Linked DNA regions of Homo sapiens: regions 2 and 3 are each linked to region 1. The links are contacts of gene promoters, found by promoter capture Hi-C in human tissues and cell types (Jung and others, 2019). All regions are on one chromosome and are shown on one strand. Each heading gives the region's core, a stretch centred on a gene start or on the middle of the fragment in contact. The rest is flanking DNA. Distances are from core to core; before and after follow the strand shown.

Evidence for each region. Contacts are between HindIII fragments. The study calls those that stand out against the background at their distance.
Region 2: a fragment that was not itself captured here is called in contact with the fragment with the promoter of SLC13A5 in region 1 in 2 of the 25 tissues and cell types used here (adrenal gland and mesendoderm cells).
Region 3: a contact is called between a fragment that was not itself captured here and the fragment with the promoter of SLC13A5 in region 1, in 5 of the 25 tissues and cell types used here (H1 embryonic stem cells, bladder, liver and 2 more).

Annotation. Positions count from the first base shown.
Region 1 is chr17:6,711,153-6,716,077 of GRCh38, reverse strand. It overlaps SLC13A5 (solute carrier family 13 member 5), which reads left to right and starts at 2,709. Exons shown (of 12, transcript NM_177550.5): 1 at 2,709-2,846. The coding sequence starts at 2,745. The HindIII fragment of the contact is 16,548 bases long and covers 1-4,925 here.
Region 2 is chr17:6,835,168-6,840,092 of GRCh38, reverse strand. No RefSeq gene overlaps it. Among named protein-coding and RNA genes, the nearest start is that of TEKT1, 5.9 kb to the right of the region's middle. The HindIII fragment of the contact is 4,207 bases long and covers 1-4,130 here.
Region 3 is chr17:6,816,688-6,821,612 of GRCh38, reverse strand. It overlaps TEKT1 (tektin 1), which reads left to right. Exons shown (of 8, transcript NM_053285.2): 3 at 2,255-2,420. Among named protein-coding and RNA genes, the nearest start is that of TEKT1, 13 kb to the left of the region's middle. The HindIII fragment of the contact is 6,754 bases long and covers 1-4,925 here.

The DNA.
Region 1 (4,925 bases), core at 1,460-3,959:
TAAGAACAGAAGTTGTACTTTTACATTGTTGGTGGGAGTGTAAATTAGTTCAACCATTGTGGAAGACACTGTGGCGATTCCTCAAGGATCTAGAACCAGAAATATCATTTGACCCAGCAATTTTATTACTGGGTATATACCCAAAGGATTATAAATCATGCTGCTATAAAGACACATGCACACTATTTACAATAGCAAAGACTTAAAACCAACCCAAATGTCCATCAATGATAGACTGGATAAAGAAAATGTGGCACATACATACCATGGAATACTATGCAGCCATTAAAAATAATGAGGTCATGTCCTTTGCAGGGACATGGATGAAGCTGGAAGCCATCATTCTCAGCAAACTAACACAGGAACAGAAAACCAAACACCACATGTTCTCAGTCATAAGTGGGAGTTGAACAGTGAGAACGCATTGACACAGGGAGGGGAACATCACACACGGGGGCCTGTCAGGGGGTTGGAGGGCAAGGGGAGGGAGAGCATTAGGACAAATACCTAATGCATGTGGGTCTTAAAACCTAAATGTCCGGTTGATAGCTGCAGCAAACCACCATGGCACATGTATACCTATGTAACAAACCTGCACATTCTGCACATGTATCCCAGAACTTAAAGTAAAATTAAAAAAAAAGAAAAGAAAAAAGAACTGAAGTTGTTTACTTGCTCTCATTCATGCATCCCGGAGAAAAAGGTTTGAGTGCACATCCTGGATTAGGCACTGAGAAAGGCACTAGCTGGACAGGTGGTGATGAATAAAACAGACAGTAAATAGAAATTACATCATAATAATGTGTCATATATTTTAAAATAGCTACAAGATATTTTAAATGTTCTCACCACAAAGAAATGACAAATATTTGGGCCAGACGCGGTGGCTCACGCCTGTAATCCCAGCACTTTGGGAGACCGAGGTGGGCGGATCACCTGAGGTCAGGAGTTCGAGACCAGCCTGGCTAACATGGTGAAACCCCATTTCTACTAAAAATGCAAAAAATTAGCCGGGCGTGGTGGTGCACACCTGTAATCCCAGCTACTTGGGAGGCTGAAGCAGGAGATTTGCTTGAACCTAGGTGGCAGAGGTTGCAGTGAGCCGAGATCGTGCCACTGCACTCCAGCCTGGGTGACAGGAGCACAACTCTGTCTCAAACAAACAAACAAAAAACAAAAACAAGAGAAATGATAAATATTCGAGTGATAAATATGCTCATTAGCCTGATTTGAACACACCACAATTATACACACATTGAAAAATCACATGGTACCCCGTAAATATAGACAATGATTTGTCAATTAAAAATGAAATAACACTTAAAAAATAAAAAAGTAAAAAGTAAAAATTACACCAATAAATATAAGAGGTACAAATTGTGCTAAGTGCCCTGGGGACACAGGAAAGGCGGGAAAACCCAGGGCTATATGCATGAGAGTTACAAAGGGAAAAGGACAGGAGGGAGGCAATTGCAGGAGGGGCTTGGGAGAATGCATGTCCTTGGGTGCAGGTCACAGGAAGGAACTCATGAGCTTGATTCAGGATGTGTTGAATTTTCGGGCCGAGACACGTCCAGTCTGCGGAAGGCTGGACATCTGGGACTCTGGCATCATGGCTGGGTTGAAGGCAGAGGATGGTAATCACTAAGGAGCCGGCTGTGGTTAGGCCACCAGCATGGATGAGACTCCCCAAAAGGAAGCTGCAGAATGAGAGGCAGGCAGAGGAGAGGAAAGAAGAAAATCACAGAGGTGGGGATGTCTTTGCATCCGTGTGTCTCCAGTGCCCAAAACAGGGCCTCGCGGAGAAGAGGTGCTCGGCACCTGTCTGTTGCCTGGCGGGCTGAATGAATACATGGGCGACTGTCTCAGTGTCGCCTTAGTTGTGTCCCTTCCTCTCTAGAGCTCCGTTTCCCTCTGACCTGGGTCGGGCGGGCAGCTGCGGCTGCTGAGGCTCGGTGGGGCCCCTCCAAGACGCGTGTCCGCATCTGCCCGCCGGGCGTCTGCGGGGTGCAGCGTCCACTGGAGCGCGACAGCCCCTGGGACAGAGGAGGACAGTGGCCTCGCTTCCCTGTGCGATCGCCCAGGAGCTCCGGGCCGGAGAGTGCGAGCGGGGAAAAGGGGTCCTGCACCTAGAGTGGGGCGGACGTGGCGAGGAAGCCAGGGGGGACCGGGAAGCGAGGCCCGCGGTGCGGAGGGCGCGGGGCGTGGGGGGACACCTCTCGGAGAGACACCGGAGGGGCGGAAGTAAGGAGATGGAAAGGAGAGGGAGATCGGGGAGATAGACCTGAGAGACCCAGAGGCCTGCAGAGAGTTTCATCCGGGACCCTTCAGAGCCCAGGAAAGAGCAGATGCGGACGCGGGAGGGCGCCTTACGCCAAAGCGGGCAGCACCAGTGACCAAAACACGCCCCGCTTGGCAGCCCCGGGACGCACCTCTGCCTCGGCAGCGCAGGAGAGGCTTGGACAGCGCGAGATGCTAGGGCCCAGGCTGCCCCTAGAGGGCTGGCCCGAAGCGTTGGAGTCCAAAGACGCCTCCCACCGCCGCCGGGTGGCAGAATTGGGGGCAGGCGCGTCCCACAGACCCCGAGGGGTGGCCCCGCCCCAGGGCCGCGGGGAGGCGCCCCCGTGCGGGGCGGAGTTGTCACCGCCCCCTCCCCAATCCCCGGGGACTGTGGCCCCTTCTTAAGCCCGCGGCGCCTCTAGCTGCCCCTCACTCGTCTCGCCCGCCAGTCTCCCTCCCGCGCGATGGCCTCGGCGCTGAGCTATGTCTCCAAGTTCAAGTCCTTCGTGATCTTGTTCGTCACCCCGCTCCTGCTGCTGCCACTCGTCATTCTGATGCCCGCCAAGGTCAGTTGCATCTCCAGGCAGCCCTTCGGACACCCGGCGTCCTGTGCCCACTAACGGGCACCGATCCCGGGAGCCCTGAGCTGGAGCGCACGGATTTCGCGGGGAGCACAGCTCTCCCGGGGCGCGCGCACTCAGGAGCTCCAGGTGCCGGATGGGAGGTGCCCTGTAAAGAATCTGAGGGGCATGGCGACCCCAGGGCGCACCACCCTTGGGGTTTACAGATCCCAGGGCGCAAGAGCCGTCCAGGCAAGCACGGAAACCTCGAAGTGAGCACAGATCTCAGCCACACAGATCCCAGCCTTAGGCTCAGCCCCTGGCTCCGAATCGAATCTCCCACAGTGCATAACCCTGTTTCCCCCCAAAATGCCACCTGCGCCAACAGGGAACCTGGGAGCTTGCCTTTCCCTCTCTCTCTCCTGTCTTTTCCCTTCGCCAAAGAAGACTTCAAGCTGTAGGTGGCTTCTGCCGTCAGGAGGGACCTACAGGAAAAAAATCATCACCCACGTGGATCCTGCGCTGTCTTTGCCACTCTCTGGCCCTTCCTTGGGCCTTAGTGTCTCTATCTATGATCCACATTCCTTCCAACCTGGAGAGCCACATCTGATTCATAATCCTGCTCCAGGCTGCAGGCAGGTTGGGGTTGGCCTGCTTTGCCTCCTGCCTGCTGGGGCTGTAGCAGGAGGCGGGACACATTCCCAGAGCTCGCGCCTTGGGTGGCAGGACCTGGAGTTGCAGGGAAGCTTCCTCCCAGGCCCTAGTCTCCTAATGCTTCTGTGAGGGAGAGAGAGAATGAATGGCCTTGGCCGCAGGGTGGGCGCAGGCTCCACTGGGCTGTGCACAGCCAGTTTGGCGGAGGCCCAAGCCCTTTGAAGCCTTTTGTGGCTGCTGGCTGCTCCTTCCTCGTTCCTTCTTTCAGCCCTTTCACTCTCAGCCCAGACAGGAAACCTCCAGCTCCCCACCTCCCCTCCCCAGGCAGGTTTGGGAAACAGAGGAGCTCTTCAGGGGATGCTCTGGGGGGGAGCTCTAGAGGAAGGGAGTGCACTGGGGTGTCAGGAAGCCAACCTGCAAGAGAACTGGACTTCCACCATTCTGTCATCTGTGTGACTTTAGCCAAGTGCCTGTGCTCTCTGGGCCTTGGTGTTCTCATCTGTACAATGGGGCTAGGTGGTTTGGTTCTGACACTTTAAGGCTTTGGGAATCAAAAGGGATTAACGTTAGTTCCTAGGATGGGGGAGGGGGAGACTGGGAGGAGCCCTTGGGTGGGCCTAGCACAGGCCCTGGATGGGTCAAGGACAGCAGATCCAACTGTGGAGGCTGTGCAGTTGCCACACCAACTGTGGGCAGCCACACTTCCTCTGTAGCAAGAAGTCTGGGGTTGTTATTGTCCAGGGGAAGTAGCCAGGCAGGAGAGCTGCGATTTCAGCTCTGCTGGTAGGGAGTGATGTTCCCTGGAATGATTATAGTAGCTTGGCTGACCTTCCTGCCACAGGAGACCCCACTCACACACACACACATACACACTCTCTCTCTCACACACACACACTCACAAACACACACAGACACACACACAAACACACAGACACACACAAAACACACGCACAAACACAAACACACACAAAAACACACGCACAAACACACACCCAAACACACAAACACAGACACACAAACACACACACAAACACACACACAAAACACACAAAAAACACAAACACACACATACACATACACACACACACACACACACACCCTGAACTGGAAACCCTAACTCAGTGTGTGTGTATGTGTGTGTATGTGTGTGTGTGTAAGAGAGAGAGAGAGAGAGATTAAGCTGTCCTTTGAGTGAGGACCAGGGAGGGGAAGAAGAGAACCCAGGGAGAGTCCTTCCAAAGGCTGCCTTCACGAGCTTTCCTTCTGGCGGGGTTGGGTGAGGACCCTGGACCTTGTCTTCTTGTTTTTTCCCTTTCTGCCTGTTTTGGTCACCCTGCCCCCACCCTCCATGGCCGCCCCATTGTGCAAGGAAACCCAGAGGGTACACAGCACGGGCAGGGCAGCTGGGAAGCTGGTGAGAAGCTGGGAGGA
Region 2 (4,925 bases), core at 778-3,277, 120 kb before region 1:
CTGAGGTGGGAGAATTGCTTGAGCCAGGAGGTCAAGGCTGCAGTGAGCCATGTTTTCACTGCTGCGCTCAGCCTAGGCAACAGAGGAAGACTCTGTCTCAATTAAAAATATATGTGCAAAAGTCAGTGTGTTTTGATGTCTTTCTTCAAATCACTTAGCAGAATTCCTGCTGTTTTCATTTACATTAGATGCTTGAGACAGTTTTCAAGTGAAATATTATTTTTAAAGTCCAAAATCCCAAATTGCTTTCAAGGTGAATAAAAGGATTTTAAAAGATTGTAACAATTTTATTTCTGTGATGATCACTGAATCTAAATTCTTCATTCTCTAGACAGGGAATCCATCTAAGAATTAAATGGAAGGGAAAAAATATATATTTTTAGTCTGTGATTAGGGGAAATAGCTCATGAGATAAGAACTGGATATAAATGGAAATATGTTCAGGAGGAATGAAAAATAGGAAATTTCATCAGAGAAATAGAAACTACCAAAACACAACCAAATGGTTGCATTCTAGAACTAAAAACATATGATATCTAAAATATTAAATTCACTGGATGGGCTTATAGCAGGATGAAAACGACCAAAAGAAGTCAGCAAGCTTGAAGACAGAAACATAGAACTTATCCAATTTGAAGAACACATAGAACAAAGATTAGAAAAAAAATAATGAGACATATCTTTGGACAAAATGAATGCCTTTTGGAGGGAAAAAGGAGCCAGAGGAATAGGAATGGGAAGGAGATTTACTTCTCACTGTATTCCCTTTTATATTTAAAATTTTAATTCTCAGTGTGTATTACTGATTTAACAGGAAATAGATACATATTGAATTTTTATGCCCTAGCCCTACCTTCAATGACTGAGTGAGCAGGTCTAAGAAGAACTTTATAAGAAGGTTTTTGTTTGCTATTGATATGAACTGCTAGTTAGGAACTACAATCCTGTGATATACGCTGTTTTTATCACTTATTTGTTATAATATGCTGCCTTGTAAATAAATATCCCTGAGTATGTTAAGACACCAAGAACCTTAAAGAGAAAGGAAGGACAGAAAATACGTATTGAGCATCTGTTGCAATTTGCCTACTGATATGGTTAGTATCAATATGGTGGAGGTAATTGAATCTTGGGGATCGTTTCCCCATGTTGTTCTGATAGTGATTGTGAGTGATAGCGAGTGAGTTCTCACAAGATCTGATTTTTTTTTTTTTGTTTTTGAGACGGAGTCTTGCTCTGTCACCCAGGCTGGAGTGCGGTGGTGCAATCTCGGCTCACTGCAACCTCCACCTCCCAGGTTCAAGTGATTCTCCTACTTCAGCCTCCTGAGTAGCTGGGATTACAGGTGTCTACCACTATGCCCGGCTAATTTTTGTATTTTTAGTAGAGACGGTGTTTCACCATGTTGGTCAGCCTGGTCTCAAACTCCTGACCTCAGGTGATCCACCCGCCTTGGCCTCCCAAAGTGCTGGGATTACAGGCGTGAGCCACCGTGCTCGGCCAAGATCTGATGGTTTTATTAGAGGCTCTTCCTTCTCTCTGCACTTCTTCTTCCTGCTGCCTTGTGAAGGTGTCTAGCTTCCTTCTTGCCTTCTGCCATGGCTGTAAGTTTCCTGAGGCCTCCCTAGCCATGCTGAACCGTGAGTCGATTAAACCTCTTTCCTTCGTAAATTACCCAGTCTCGGGCAGTTCTTTATAGCAGTATGAAACTGGACTAATACACATACATGATTTCATTTAATCTTTATAGTGCCCTATGTGGTAGATATTGTGTTCATTTGTCACAGATGAGGAAACTGAGATGCAGAGAGACAAGCAGTTTGCCCAACATCACACAGCTGGGGCTGGGCATAGTTGTTCATACCTGTAATCCTAGCACTTTGGGAGACTGAAGCCAGAGGATCGCTTGAGACCAGGAGTTTGACACCAGTGTGGACAACATAGGAGACTGTGACTCTACAAAAAAAAGAAAGAAAGAAAAGAAAGAAAGAGCCAGGCATGGTGGCAGGTGGCCATGTGCCTGTAGTCCCAGCTACTCAAGAGGCAGAGGTGGGAAGATCACTTGAGCCCAGGAGTTGGAGGCTGCAGTGAGCCACGATTGCTGCCACTGCATTCAGCCTGGGCAACAACAGAGCAAGACCCTGGCAAATAAATAAATAAAACTAAACATCCCCCAAACAAATGGACAAACAAACAAAAAACAAGGGAAACAAATCCTGCAAGTAGTATAAGCCTGAACTGGACTTGAACTTGGGTCTGATACCAGAGGCTGATCCCATGCTACCTACCCCAAAGCACCTAGCACTGTGAGATGCAGGGAGCAGAGCTTAAGAAGGGACTTGTTAAATGATGGATAAATAATGCAAACACTTTCTGATATATAGGCACTCAACTACTATTATTCAGGAAAACTACGAAATTTCTATTCATTATTCTGCCTGAATTACTTCTGGGGCCTCACTGCAAGAAGAAACAATGGTTAGGAACTGGAATTAATCCAAATGTAGGTTATGTAATGGCTTTACCAAAGCACCGATTTGATTTCGGCTTTCTTTACAGCAAATGACCAAATGTAGTGACTCTTTTAACTGGCTAGTCCTGACCCGGTTCATAGCCTATCACTGTAACTGAAATATTCTAGCCCTTTGTCTTATTTGTTATAAGACTTTCTATCTTGTTCCTACTTATCAATACTGGTCTAGAACTAATTTTAATAATAATAAAATAAAATTCAATTATTATTTTTGCAAAGGTAGTACATACATGTGTATGGTTCAAAGTGTAAAAGACACAAAAGGGTATTCAGTGAAAAGTCTCCTTCTACCACTCTCCCTGGACACCTAGTTTGCTTCACAGTCAGCCAAGGTCACCAGTTTCTTGTGTATCCTTCCAGAAATATTTATGCATTTACAAGCAAATATGTATATATGTTTTCTTCCTCCCCTCTTATTTATAGAAATATTTTTGAGGACAAAATAGATAATATCAACCTTTCTGCTTCAGCTACTCAGGAGGCTGAGGCAGGAGGATCACATTGATTTTTTATTGTTTTTCACTGAAAATTATCCTTTAGAGGTCATTTCGTTTGGCTACAAAAGGTCCTTCCTCATTCTTTTGTAGCTTCATGGTTTCCAATGGTAAGGATGTGCCATAATTTGTTTAGCAAGACACCTACTGATGGGCATGTAAGTTGCTTCTAGTCTTTTCCTATTACCAGCGATGCTGAAATGAATAACATTGTGCATGCAGGTGTCATTTTAAAGCCATCTCACCATTTCTTTCTTGCTTACTTTTGATTATATTTGGTCTTGTTTTTGGAGTACTTGGTAAAACCCTGAATATGTTCAACATTTGGTTTGGTTGCCTACAAAGCAGCCAAGAGCAAGCCTTCTAAGCCTGAACGAGTAGATACATATTCCCTGAGTGTCTCCAAAGCAAAAACCTTAGACCCTGAAAACAAAATAGTTTCATAAAAGTTACTCCAGTAATTTTTTGAGATGAGGCACTGCTCATCATCCTCAAATTCAAATTGCCAAAGCAGTCAAGATCCTGTTGTGATTCAAGAGCCCAGACTTCCAGACGTAGGAGACAGCCTGGAAACAAGGCTTCTGCTCAGGACCTTGTTGGCTGGGTGAAGAAGCTTACAGGAGAGCCCGTGGAGGCAGATGGGGTGCTCAAAGGATCACCCACATGGCTGGTTTTTCTTTAAGGAGAACCATACAGCAAGTGATGAAGGGCAGGAAATGGCCACTTTGCTCAAACTCCTGGAGGCAAATAGGAACAAGACTTAAGAAAGGTCTAGTCAAGCCTCCAACGTTACACATTGAAAAGATCATTATGCACTACCTTGAAAAGGACTAACCTGTCTCTTAGGAGCGTGTGAGTCAATATAGTGCTCCGACAATGGGTATAGTGGTTAGCATTGCAGGCTCTAGGGTCAGGTAATTAAAATCCGCCCCCTCCTTTTTTTTAACCATTTAGTAGCTGTAAGTAACTTCTTTGTGCCTCCTGTCTTCTAAAAAATTGGGTCATTAATCATAGCTCTCCTAAAGGGCTGTGTGTAGATTAAATGGGATAATATCTCCCAAGCACAGTGCCTGGCACATAATACATGCTTGATAAATGGTGGTTGTGGTGATCATTCGAGAAACAGGAAGCATTTCACCACTTAATTCTATACAAGAAGCTACTTTAAAATATCGTGACGACTTCTAGAAATCAATACATGTTGCACATATTCTTGACTATCTTGTTTCTAGCCTCAGGATTTTGATTTATTTTGTACTGTGGTGTCAATTACAGAGAAAAGCCACCTTCTAGAAATGAGAAATGGGGACCCTGAATGGAGCCTTGCTTGTGAACTGTGCCGGGACATCCTGGTGTGTGCCATACAGTCCTGTAATTGATCAGTGTCTTATGAATCTTTCCCATTTTTTTATTCCTTGTTGATTTGCTGTGAACACCTGAAAGAAAGATGGTGGAGAACATCTCTTCATCCTTACTGGCAGTGAAAATCTGTTATTTCAAAGGGGAAGCACATGCTTTATATCCTTTTATTCCCCTAAGGGCCTCTTAAAAGCACATCACAGTTATTTGGTAGGTTAAAATTCCAATGAAAAGCTTTTAAGTTATCATGTTTGTTAATTGCTAATTTGGGGTTAGCGTCATACAACAGGGGACTAAGTCCCCGCTACAGACGCAGAACACTAGGGTCTTGAATGCCCAGCTTCGCACAATGGCCTGTGATATTGATACTTATTATAAGGAATAGCAAGAATAAAGGGCTAGTGGTTTCTTATCAATGAACTCACTGCTCCACAGTGAAACCTAAGATGGAAAACAATTCACATCTTACCAATACCATTATATGAAGGGAGTCTTTTCCCCCCAATCTAGGTGCAGTTCAGTGGGGAAGTTGACACAGA
Region 3 (4,925 bases), core at 1,634-4,133, 110 kb before region 1:
TCACTACCACATTTCCAGGTTATCTTTATAGCAGTGCCTCACTTCCAGTACTAATTCTCTGTATCAGTCAATTTTCACACTGCTATAAAGAAATACCTGAGACTGGATAATTTATAAAGGAAAGAGGTTTAATCGACCCACAGTTCCACATGGCTAGGGAGACCTCAGGAAACTTATAATCATGGTGGAAGGCTAAGAGAAAACAAGGACCTTCTTCACATGGTGGCAGGAGAGAGAAGAGAAAATGAAGGGGGAAGAGACCCTTATAAAACTATCAGATCTCAAGAGAGCTCACTCACTATCAGGAGAGCAGCATGGGGGAAACTGCCTCAATGATCCAATTATCTCCCACCAAGTCCTTCCCTCAACAGGTGAGGATAACAGCTGGAGATGAGATTTGGGTGGGGACACAGAGCCAAACCATATCAAAGGGTATATCTGGCATGTGACACAACAATTAAATAAGTTTGACACCAGTGTGAAATTTCAGGACCCTAGGAAAATAGATTACTAAAATTTTTCAGAGTGGAAAAAACAGGTCATATACAAAGAATCAGGAATCAGAGTGGCATCAGACTTTTCAACAGAAACTCTGGAAATTAGAAGGAAATGGAGGGACACAATCACAATTCCAAATAAAAAAGAGTTACAAACTGTAACTCAGGGCACAGCCAAATAGAATGAAATGTCGAGGGTAGAATAAAGACATTTGCAGACTTGCAGGTTTTCAAAAACTTTACCTCACATGCATCCATTTCTTAGGAAGTTACTGAAGGATATGCTTCAGCATACTGAAAGAGTAAATCAAGGAAGAGGAAGAAATACAATCCAGGAAACGGGACAGCAACAGGAGAAGAGTGAAGGGGATTCCTGGAAGCAAAGTCATAGGATGACAGCTACACAGCAAACTAGAGAGCAACTCATCCAGCAGGAGGAGAAGATGCTCTAGGAGAGACATCTCCAAGGAGGAAAGAAAATTGATAGCTTACTTGATGGGTTGGAATATATTGAGGGCATATTGAGAAAAAATTAATAATATAAAGAAACTGAAGGAATCACTATGCTACCCATTTTACTATCTCATAATGTCATGTTGTAAACCTCAAATATATACAATAACATTTTTTTTTAAAACAGAGTCAGCTTACAGAAGTGGAAACTGACACTACAACCAGTACATTATGACTTTAAGATTCAAATGCTGAACTACTCATTATCAATTAAATATATATATATTTAATTGTTTTCCTAGTATAATCAGTCATTTTTTACTCATGGTGACTAATAAATCTGCCTTTAATTATCATTTAAAAAAGAAAGTGAAGCAAAAATGCCATTTTAACTCCTCCCCAAAACAGAAAATTTTGTAAGAAAAGAAATTTATTACAGTGTATGATAGGGCTCAGGTGTAAATAACATTTATATATTTACAAAATGTAAATAAATAGTAAGTTTACTTATTTATTGTTTAACAAAATGGTGATACAACTATATTGGGAGACGGAAGTATGTTGTGTGAGTTGGTTAAGAGCAAATCATTATCTTTCATCACAGGAAATCAACATATAATATCAAAACTGATAATGAGTGAATAGCAGTATAAGCAAATGTCAGAAGTGATAAGGGGCCTGGCGCAGTGGCTGACACCTGTAATCCCAGCACTTTGGGAGGCCGAGGCAGGCGGATCACGAGGTCAGGAGATCGAGACCATCCTGGCTAACATGGTGAAACCCAGTCTCTACTAAAAAATACAAAAAATTAGCCGGGTGTGGTGGCGGATGCCTGTAGTCACAGCTACTCGGGAGGTTGAGACAGGAGAATGGCATGAACCTGGGAGGCAGAGCTTGCAGTGAGCAGAGATTGCACCACTGCACTCCAGCCTGGGTGACACAGTGAGACTCCGTCTCAAATGGATGGGGACAGGTCAGAGAGTTTTAATTCTTTGTGATACTATTTGACTTTTCTAACAACACACATTTATATCTTTGATAAAATTAAAAGTTATTAAAAACAGTGGGCACTGAAGAACTAGTGGGTGTAGAATGATAAATCTGATGTGGACTGTAAGAAAATATATCTTCCTTCCTTCCTGCAAATAAACATTTAAAAAGATGAAAAGATGCCCCAAATAGCACAGCACTAAGAGGAAAAGAGCATGTCACAGGTGGTTTTACAACAGTCTTCAAGTTTCTAATTCAAATGTTGGCTACCTTGGGATAGATTAGCCCTGGTGTAACTTCCCCGTGTGCTTCAGAACAGAGACTCGAGGAAGTCCAGTTCTGGAAGAAGGAGTTAGATGACAAACTTGAGCAGCTTGTGAATGTAACTGATGATCTACTCATATATAAGATCAGATTGGAAAAAGCCCTGGAGACCTTGAAAGAGCCCTTGCACATCACTGAGACATGCCTGGCATACAGGTAGGAGCGAAGGTCCCTCAAATGATTCATGTGTTGTGACAAATGAGATGCTGGGTAGTAAATGCCGGCTGTGTGCGATGGTGAGTTAGAACACAGCACTTGAGCAGGTGTTCTTTTAGAGCCTGAAGTTATCCCAGCATGCCCCTGGTGCTGGGCAGTGCAAGGGGCACTGGACTTGGTTCATGCCTCAACTCTGCTCTTGACTAACTCAACTCAAATATGTTAGGACTAGGTTTGGCTGTGGGTAGCAGAAAACTTTAAAATAATATTGAATTTAAAGAAAACGATTTCTTTCTCTCTTACATTCAAAGAGTCTAGAGATAGTCAGTCCAGGGTTGGAATGGTGGGCCACAGTTTTAGGGTTCCAGGCTTTTTCTATCTTCTTGTTCTACTGCACATGGCTTTCACTCCTAATGTTACCTTGTGGTTTAAGTTGGCAGCTGGAGCTCCAGCCATTATGTCTACATTCCAGCAAGTAGGAGTAAGTGGGGTCTGGCATTCATCATTTCTATTTGCATCCTATTGACAGAACTTAATCACATGGCCACACCAACAGATGCTGGGAAATGATTGGTTTTACTTTGGGCAGCCAGGTGCTCAGCCAAAAAACCAGGGGTTCTGTTGCCAAGGAAGAAGGTGAGAACAGACACTACAGCTCCCAGGGGACAGTATGTCTCTCCCATGCAGAGCCACACGGAAGCACTTTGTAATCCAGACAGCACTATAGGAACATAGTGCTTTTTATTATTATTTCCCTCCTATAAATCCAGTGAATAGAATGATCCTTTCTACTCTGGGGTGATGCTGGTTTCCAGACCTGGGTTCTGCCGCAGACCTAGCTGGAGTGCCCTAACAGGTCTTCTTGCTGTTAGCATAGTCCCCTATAATCTAGTGCACCCTGCACACTGGCTGTTGAGTGAACTTTTCCAAATGCAGATTTTTCCCGGTCACCGCCATGCTTAGAATCCTTCAAACCCCAATGGCTTCAAGATAAATTTTAAGCTTCTTAGCTTAGCAAACCAAGGTTCATCATGATAGGGCCCCCAGTGACCTCTCTGGATCCATATCTTGTCCCCAGTAGTGGGATGTGCTTAGGTGTGTGGAGCTACTTGCAGTTTCTCAAATGCACCATGCCCCTGTCTTCCTGGAAAGCCCTGTTCCTTCCATAAGCTTAAACAGGACCCGTTGCAGGAACCAGGCAGCAGTCTCCCCAGCCAGATTTAGAAATCTATGAAGCAAAGAGAAATAGCAGCTCATCAAAGAGCTCAACACCCAGTTGGCTCAAGTCTAAGCCTGAGGATAATGATAACGTAGAGGCTGCTAAGTTTACTGAGCATGTACTATGTGCCAGGTACTGTAGCTTATGCTTTTATAGCTCATTTGTAGTGTGCCACAATCCTATGAAGTACTAATAATTACCCCCATTTTACAGAAAAGGAAACCAAGGCACAGGTAGGTTATATAGTGGCTAAGGGCACCCAGCTAGTGAGTAGGGGAACCTCCTTTCCAAGCACTATCATGCAGGTTGAAAAAGAGCAAAACGTTGTGTAGCAGGGTCAGTTTGGGAGGAGGATGGCATCTTGGCTAGAAGCACATGTGGCACACAGTTCTGTGACACTGGGTAGATCACTTAGTCTCTCTGAAACTCAGTTTCCCCATCTGTACTTGAAAGGGCTAAGAAAGAATGTTTATATATTAATAAAGCTCAGCACAATGCCTGTCATGGAGTAAGTGCTCACTGGCAGAGGCAATATTACTATTGGTGTTATTATTATTAATAGTTATTATTACTATAAACATCTTTTAAAATTTTTTTTGAGATGGAGTTTCGCTCTTGTTGCCCAGGCTGGAGTGGAATGGTGCAATCTCGGCCCACCGAAACCTCCACCTCCCGGGTTCAAATGATTCTCCTGCCTCAGCCTCCTGAGTAGCTAGGATTACAGGCATGCACCACCACTCTTGGCTAATTTTGTGTTTTTAGTAGAGACGGGGTTTCTCCATGTTGGCCAGGCTGGTCTCCAACTCCCGACCTCAGGCGATCCACCTGCCTCAGCCTCCCAAAATGCTGGGATTACAGGCGTGAGTCACTGCGCCCACCCTAAAACATCTTTCTATGTTCAATTGTTTGTCTAAACACTGAATGAGGATCAAGGAAGGAAACAAGTCTTTGAATTTATTATTATTATTTAAAACTTTCCTCTTCTTGGGAAAAAAAGTCCATCTGGCTGCAAATCAAAACCACAATGAGATACCATCTCATGCTAGTTAGAATGGCAACCATTAAAAAGTCAGGAAACAACAGATGCTGGAGAGGATGTGGAGAAATAGGAATGCTTTTACACTGTTGGTGGGAGGGTAAATTAGTGCAACCATTGTGGAAGACAGTGTGGTGATTCCTCAAGGATCTAGAACTAGAATTACCATTTGACCCAGCAATCCCATTACTGGGTATATACCCAAAGGATTATAAATCATGCTACTATAAAGACATATGCACACGTTTGT